Regions from separate parts of the Homo sapiens genome. Here region 2 is linked to region 1. Evidence: promoter capture Hi-C in 16 types of primary human blood cells and fetal thymus (Javierre and others, 2016). All regions are on one chromosome and are shown on one strand. The core of a region is centred on a gene start or on the middle of the fragment in contact, and the rest is flanking DNA. Distances in the headings are between cores, read along the strand shown. Region 1 holds the start of NELFCD (negative elongation factor complex member C/D). Region 2 overlaps ZNF831 (zinc finger protein 831).

Region 1 (3,740 bases), core at 1,050-3,549:
ATTTCTCCTTGGCCTGCCAGGTGCCGCTCTCAGTGGCCTTTCTGTTCCAAGTACGCATGCCTGGCCTTTGCCCTGGCAGTTCTGCTCTCTGGAAATGCTCTTGCCTGGGTCTTAGCTAGCTTGCCCCTTTCATGACATGACTCAGTTCAAATGTAAGCTGCTCAGCAGCCATCTCTGATCTCCCCAAGAAGATTCTATTATCACAGAATACTAGCACTGATCACCTTCTGTCTTTATCTTATTTGTTCCCCCCACCCCCTCCCCCCATTCAGCTCCTTCAGTAGAATGTAGGCTCTACCCGGACAAGGATCAGGTCCAACTTGTTCACCGAGCTCCAGGGAGCAGCGCAGTGCTGGGCACTTAGGGAACACTCAATAAACATTTGTTGAATAAATGAAGACATATTCCCTGATAAGTTCTCCAAAAGTAGTCACTATTATCAATCTTCTGGAGCTCTTTTCTCTAATACTCTTTCCTTACTGACATGGGCATTACCTTTCTTTTTTTTCTTTATAGACAGGGTCTCACTTTGTCACACAGGCTGAAATGCAATGGCACGACCATAGCAAACTGTAACCTCAAACTCCTGGGCTGAAGCAATCCTCCTGCCTCAGCCTCCCGAGCAGCTAGGACTACAGGCGTGCATCACCATACCTGGCTGGGGGCGGGGGAAGGGGGGGGGCGGTGTCTCGCTATGTTGCCCAGGTTGGTCTCAAACTCTTGCCTCAAGCAATCCTCCCACCTTGGCCTCCCAAAGTGCTGGGATTACAGGTGTGAGCCGCGGCGCTCAGCCACGGGCGTTACCTTTCAAAGCATCCAGATTTTATGGCGTTAATCTCCCTGTTTAAAATTTTCTGTGATTTGGACACAAAGATGGGAACAACAGACATGGGGTATTCCAAAAGGCAGAAGGTGTGGAGGGGGGTAAAGGCTGAAAAAGTTGCCGAAAGGATTAGAAGCATCACGCAATATACCAATGTAACAAACCTGCACACGCACCGAATCTAAAATTAAAACAAAACAAAAACACAACAACCAAACAAAAACCTTTCCGTGATCATCAGGAGGCTGTCATATTCTCACCCCCTACTTCACGCTGGGAATCGAGCTGCGGGCTTTACAACAGCGTCAGCTGCTCCCTTTGGCAACGACCAGAGAGGTCCTTTCTCCAGAGATTTTTGTCAGCTCTGGGCACTTTTGCTTTGTGGGCCTATCTTCCACTTTATAAAAAATTAAAAATGCTACTTTCCACTGCATTCAGTACTTTTTCTTCTCTTTTCTTTTTTCTTTTCTTTTCTTTCTTTCTTCTTTCTTTCTTTTTCTTTTTCTTTTTTTTTTTTTTTTTGACACAGTTTCACTCTGTTGCCTAGGCTGGAGTGCGGTGGTGTGATCTTGGCTCACTGCAACCTCCACCTCCTGGGTTCAAGCGGTTCTCGTGACTCAGCCTCTTGAGTAGCTGAGACTACAGGCGCCCGCCACCATGCCCAGCTAATTTTTGTGTTATTAGTAGAGAAGGGGTTTTACCATGTTGACCAGGCTGGTCTCGAACTCCTGACCTCAGGTGATCCGCCCGCCTCGGCCTCCCAAAGTGTTGGGATTACAGGCGTGAGCCACCGTGCCCTGCCCTTTTTATGTATGTATTTATTTATTTGAGATAGGGTCTCGCTCTGTCGCTCAGGCTGGAGTGCAATGGTGCGATCTTGGCTCACTGCAACCTCCGCCTCCCGGGTTCAAGCGATTCTCCTGCCTCAGTCACCCGAGTACCTGGGATTACAGGCGCATGCCACCACGCCCGGCTAATTTTTGTATTTTGAGCAGAGACGGGGTTTCACCATGTTGGCCAGACTGGCCTCGAACTCCTGACCTCAAGTGATCCGTCAGCCTCGGTCTCCCAAAGTGCTGGGATTACAGGCGTGAGCCCCCACGCCCGGTCGCGTTTAGTACTTTTTACCAAAACTAAAAGAAATTAAAACACTTTCGTGGGTCCTGGACACTTCCGGAAGGATTTGTTTCCAGCTGCCAGATGAGGAAACTGGGGCTCGCAGAGCCGGCGCCGCAGGGGAGGGGCTGTGCACGAATCCAGTGGGAAACCTCTCTCCGGAGCTAAGCCCCTGGTCCACCCGGGCATCGCTCCGGGATCGACTGGGGGCGTTCCTTCCGCCGGTCCCCTTTGTTCCCAGTGCCGAGCCCGCGGCCCTGCCCTTCCTCCAGGCCCCGCCCCTTCTTCCAGGCCCCGCCTCCCGCCCGGGCCGAGGCGCGCGGCCGCGCGTGCGCCCGCCCGCCCGTCCCCGCCTCGCGCATGCGCCGCGCTCGCTCGCGGGAGGGCATGGCGGGGGCCGTGCCGGGCGCCATCATGGACGAGGACTACTACGGGAGCGCGGCCGAGTGGGGCGACGAGGCTGACGGCGGCCAGGTGAGGCGGGGCACTGGGCGCACCCTAGAGAGAATCGTTCGTCTCCGCCGCCGGCGGGCCGGCCCCACTCCCGGAGAGGCCGCGCGGCGCGAGGCTGCGGGCGTGCGGGGGGTGTGCGCGCGCACGGCCCGCGCGGTCACCGTGTGGTTCAAGCACAGCCCGCCCCGCCCCCGCCCGCCCGGGGTCCCGCGGCGCGGCCGCCGGGGTCCCCGCCTCCTCGCCTGCAGGACCTTGGGGTGGGGGTGAGGCGCCGGAGGCTCTGGCGCGGGGCGGCCCGAGGCCCCCAGTACCCCCTCGCTCCGGCCAGGCCCGGCGCCGGCCCTGCGACCCCCGCGGCGGGCGGGACACCAACGCTAAGGTGGAGGGTTGGGTCCGGAGCTCACAGACTTTTAAACAAAAATAAAGTGGAAAAACTTCACAGCAGCATCATGAGGAAAAAGTAGAACTTAGGGCATTCCTACATGTGCTTTACTGTTTTATAAACTGTACTCTTCAGCACCTTGGGCTGATTTCATCTGTTTTTGGGCAAACTGATGGAAAGGATTTTCGGGCCTTGACCTTCCAGGGTTTGGGGTGGAAGCCCAGGAGGGATCACTGTTCCACCCTGAGGACAGGGACTGCAGAGCCAGGGCAGGTAGCTCTAGTCTGGACAGTGTGTCCCCACCTTACTCTAAAGACCCAACTGAGGCGCATGATTGAAATGTAGCTTCTCACGTCCCTCCCCTGGAGACGGCCCAACAGTTGGTCTGGACGGGAGCCTGGGAACTTGCATTTTTTTTTTTTTTTTTTTTTTTTTTTTTTTTTGTGGTGGAGTTTCGCTCTTGTTGCCCAGGCTGGAGTGTAATGGCGCCATCGCGGCTCACTGCAACGTCTGCCTCTCGGATTCAAGCGATTCTCCTGCCTCAGCCTCCCGAATAGCTGGGATTACAGGCACCCACCACCATGCCCAGCTAATTTTTAAAATTTTGAGTAGAGAGGGGGTTTCACCTTGTTGGCCAGGCTGGTCTCAAACTCTTGACCTCAGGTGATCCACCCACCTCTGCCTCCCAAAGTACTGGGATTACAGGCGTGAGCCACTGCTCGTGGCCCAGGAACTTGCATTTTTAACAACAATCAAGATTGGGGATGTCTGGTGCATTTTGAAGTGGTATTATAAGGGAATAAAGGATGAAGTGGGGCTTACGTTGATAAACATGGGTGGTGGTGTGATGGCGGCTTCGGAGCCATGGTCTAAAATGCCAAGGCGGGCGATGTGTTTCTGGAACTGAAAGAAGCCCTGTGATGTTAGCTGCCTGGTGGAAGCAGTGGCAGGAGGTCAGTAGGGAGC
Region 2 (3,901 bases), core at 719-3,218, 270 kb after region 1:
GTTTATGATTACTTAGAGGCAAACTTTCAAAAGATTGCATTAGGATAGTGCAGAAATACCCGAGGCTGTACTTGATAAATCCATCTTTCTGGTCCTCTCCCCCAACCCTCCCTGCCTGTGCAGCTGAAGTCGGAGCTGCTTCTCACTGCTCACCGCCCACTGACTTCTGATTATTTTTTGATTGGCATTGACATCCAACGTCTCCCATTCTCTCTGCCTGAGAGGAATAAAACCTCTTTCTTCCATCATTTTTAGCCATTTTTTTCGTAAAGAGGCTTCATAAACAAAAAATGTAATAGGATTGCAGAAACAAATGAATTTACTGTCAAAGAAACTTTAGCATAACGTCAGGTATGCAACAGAGACTTAAAGAAAATTGGTTGAATAATTACATGTATAGATGATTCAGACTTAGAAAGCCATCCAGGACAGGGGTGATGTCAGATGATTTACTGTGTGCATAGTTTTGCTCTTTTCCATAGATACAGGTTGGGTTGGGGTCCTATTTCATGGCCACCCAGCACCTTCGTGCTTTTTCTTTCATGCTATTTACTATATTTGCTTGGTGAATTTTTTATATAATTATTTGCTTACTGAATTTCTCCCCCGTTGAACTATAATTATCATGTGGGTGTGTCTGCCTCGTTTTCCACAGAACAAATGCCCTGTGTTTAGCACAGTTCTTGGCACGGTTGTTGGTTGTGCTTGGTGCTCAGTAAATATTTAGGCTCAATAACATAGGCTCGAAAACAGGCTTAAAAATATTTGAATAAATAACTGTCCACAAAGTTATTACTTTTAGAGATCTGCCCAGCTTTCTATAAGTAATTGCTAGCACATTGTGGATCTGTTAATTCCCGGGATGCTTCTAAACAATTTAATCACAGATTAATTAATAGTCTAGGAAATTACTCCTATATTCTTGTTTATATTTGCAGCTTGCTTAGAAGGTTGATTTTATAGACTCATTTTTAACCCTTTTTTTAAATAATAATTCAGTCTTTGGAATCCACATTCATGGAGTTTTGGTGTATTGGGACAAACCAAAAGAAATATATCAAATTACTTACATTTTTAGTTAATGATATTTGAGCAGTGCGTTTATAGCATTTTAATAAGGCCTAGACATTAGGCAGCTGGAAGAAGATTTGGCATTAAAGATGTCTACAGTTATGTTGTAAGTTTCATCATGTTGTTTATTTATTTCATTTTCTTTCTAAGTATTTTACAGTTTCCTGTAGCCTTTTCAAGATGGCCACATTTAAAATTGCTGTAACACTTTAAGTGGCCTCTTCCTCTAAATGCAGTCTGGCAATTATTTCTGAGGGAAGTTATTAAAAACACAGCCTTTAATCAGGGAAAGAACAGCACGGCACAGAGAGCTGTGATGAGAGATGGTCTCTCTAATAAGAGTCCCATAATTGTGTAAGAGCGATCGAATTTCTGAAGATGGCATTAAGACAGTGGAGTTTGTAATTTCTGAGGATGTAGGAAGTGATTCATACAGTGTGATGCTGAAGCCTCAATGGAATCACATTCTGTGATTTAAAATTTGGCCAGGGAACTACTTCCTTTTTGAAAAGGGCCATTCATTTAAAAGCAAGTTAGTGTCCTTCCTCAATAATCCAAATCAGTTTAACACACTTCAGTGACATTATTTGAGCATTTTTCACAATTATTAAAGATAATTCACTTTTCTCTGTAGACTGCAGGGTCAAAAACAAATTAGATCAGTGGATTTTCTTCCTTTACTTTCATAGATGAGTCAGAAGTTATTGGTCAAATGTGCACATGACCTTTCTACTTAAGCTTAAAAACCAAAACAACCTGTTGGGAAGACATTTGGCCAATCTGATTATTTTCTCTACACTAATTGGTTTTACTTCTTCATTGAATTGAATGAATTGCATGGTTGTTTTGTCACTGTGGGGACAGAGCTTAATTCACTTAGAGTGAGCACTTGTGCTTGGTGAACGATGAGGCTAAGGAAATGCATATCATCACCATTAATTTTTGATAATTTTTCATGGGTGAGAATGAAAACATATCTTGAATCCACCCCTTTTTTCCCTTTCTATTTCTGGTGCCCTAGTCAAGCCATCTCATCTGGCCCCTGGATTATCCTAGTAAGCTTGTAACTGTTTTTCCCACCTCTCCTCACCTCTCTCCCGAGTTTGGCTTCAAAATTTAAACTTCTTACCACAGTCACTTGTACCCCACAAGATCTGAGTCCTTGTTGACTTCCCCACCATCATCTTGCCCCTGCCCCTGCATTCACGACTGTCCTTCCACATTGGCCCCCCATGGGTCTCTTGCTCCCGCAAGCTGCTTTCCCCTTTAAGGTCTCTGTATTGTTCCTTCTTTTGTCTAGAATATCCTTTGTGGACTTGTTCTTTCTCACTCTGAAGGTCTCATTTCTGATGTCGCCTTTCTGAGAAGTCTTCCTTGACTATATAAAACAGTCCTCCCTGGCTACTCTTTGGATTAAGCCCCCTCATTACTCTCTTTACTACCCCCTGCTTATCATGAGTCTGTAGTATGCTCCCCTCCATTTCTCATTAGTGTCTGGAATAGCCTCCTGTTAATTGTTACTGCCTGTAATACTCTCATTTTCACTCTCGGTAATATCCCCGTCCTCGATTTATTTCCTTTGCGACCCCATCACAATAGGCGTCTGCTTCCTTGTCTTTGCTTCTCTTTCCCCATTACAGTAGAAGCTCTTGAGGGCCAGCGTCACCTTTGTTTTGTTCTTCTCAGACTCTTCAAGGTGGAGCATGGTGCCTGGGTCATTGAAGGGGCCCAGGATGTGGTTGTTGAACAGGTGAATGGAGTACCAAAAGCCTGGTTCTGTGCCATTAGATTACCTGAGTACACGGGAGGGTCAAGAAAGATTGTGTGGAAGAAAAAAGCATTGCTATCTTTCCCAAACTGTGCACTTCTCTACGGATTTTCAAAGTTGATTTGCTCAGGATTAGCACACTTGGTAATCTAGTAACTTACCCCTTGAGATATAAGAAGTGGAACTGTTCTTTTGGTTTAAGATGGAGGATGGAACACATTTATTTACCTCAGCTTTTCTCTAACAACCAACAAGAGGTTAGTAATTAAAGGTGTTTTTAATATATAAGCTCACAAGGAGAAACGACTTGGAGAAGAAATGATGCCACCAGTTTGAAAACTGGAGTGCAGAGTCTGAATGGGAACTGATGTAGCTGACCCCAAGGAATGGAATCCTGATTTAACAGTGAGAAGACTCCCCACAACTCAGACATTCATGGTACCAGGTGTGGCTGAAAACAAGATTGATTGAAAGACTAAGAAGCAATCAGACTTCATTCCCACTCCGTTTCTACTTCTCAGAGCTTGGTAACTTCCCTCACCCTTGGAGAAGACTAGGGGCTTAGTCTCTGGACAGCATACAAAATGCTGGGGGACACTTGGCATAATTAGTTCAGCAGGGGAGTGAGGGGACTAGATTGAAAATGGGGTTTGAGCAAATGTGAATACTGCATATGAGCCCCCAGAATCTCTTCTCTAATTTTGACTCCAGAATGCCGGCAGCCTGGCTTCTATTTTCCAGTCAGGAGACCCGAGGACTCTTCTTGTAGAAGCTGACCAGTACACGTGGAGACCTGCAGATAACTACTTCAGGGTTCCCACTGAAACAGGGCAACCACATAACCTAACAGTAGGGCCCATGGTTGACAGATTGCACTTGTAAAGAACACCAAGTCAGCTTTTTTGTGCCCATTTCCTAAACATAAGCAGCGAAGATTGCTGTATTTCTCAGGAAAGCCACCAACCTAAAGAGAGAAATAAAAACAAACCAATGGAAACAAAGGAACTTGGAAGAGGGACTATGTAGGGGGAGGCAAACTTCAACAACGACAACAACAACAAC

What was found. The method cuts DNA at HindIII sites, captures the fragments that hold promoters and counts their contacts. A CHiCAGO score of 5 or more calls a contact.
Region 2: a fragment that was not itself captured here is called in contact with the fragment with the promoter of NELFCD in region 1 in 1 of 17 cell types (total CD8 T cells); the score reaches 5.3 in total CD8 T cells.

The regions. Positions count from the first base shown.
Region 1 is chr20:58,978,957-58,982,696 of GRCh38, forward strand. NELFCD (negative elongation factor complex member C/D) reads left to right here and starts at 2,300. Exons shown (of 15, transcript NM_198976.4): 1 at 2,300-2,413. The coding sequence starts at 2,354. RefSeq lists a silencer at 2,156-2,635 and an enhancer at 2,558-3,058. The HindIII fragment of the contact is 8,660 bases long and covers 1-3,740 here.
Region 2 is chr20:59,246,758-59,250,658 of GRCh38, forward strand. All of the region lies in intron 4 of ZNF831 (zinc finger protein 831), which reads left to right. Among named protein-coding and RNA genes, the nearest start is that of EDN3, 52 kb to the right of the region's middle. The HindIII fragment of the contact is 322 bases long and covers 1,808-2,129 here.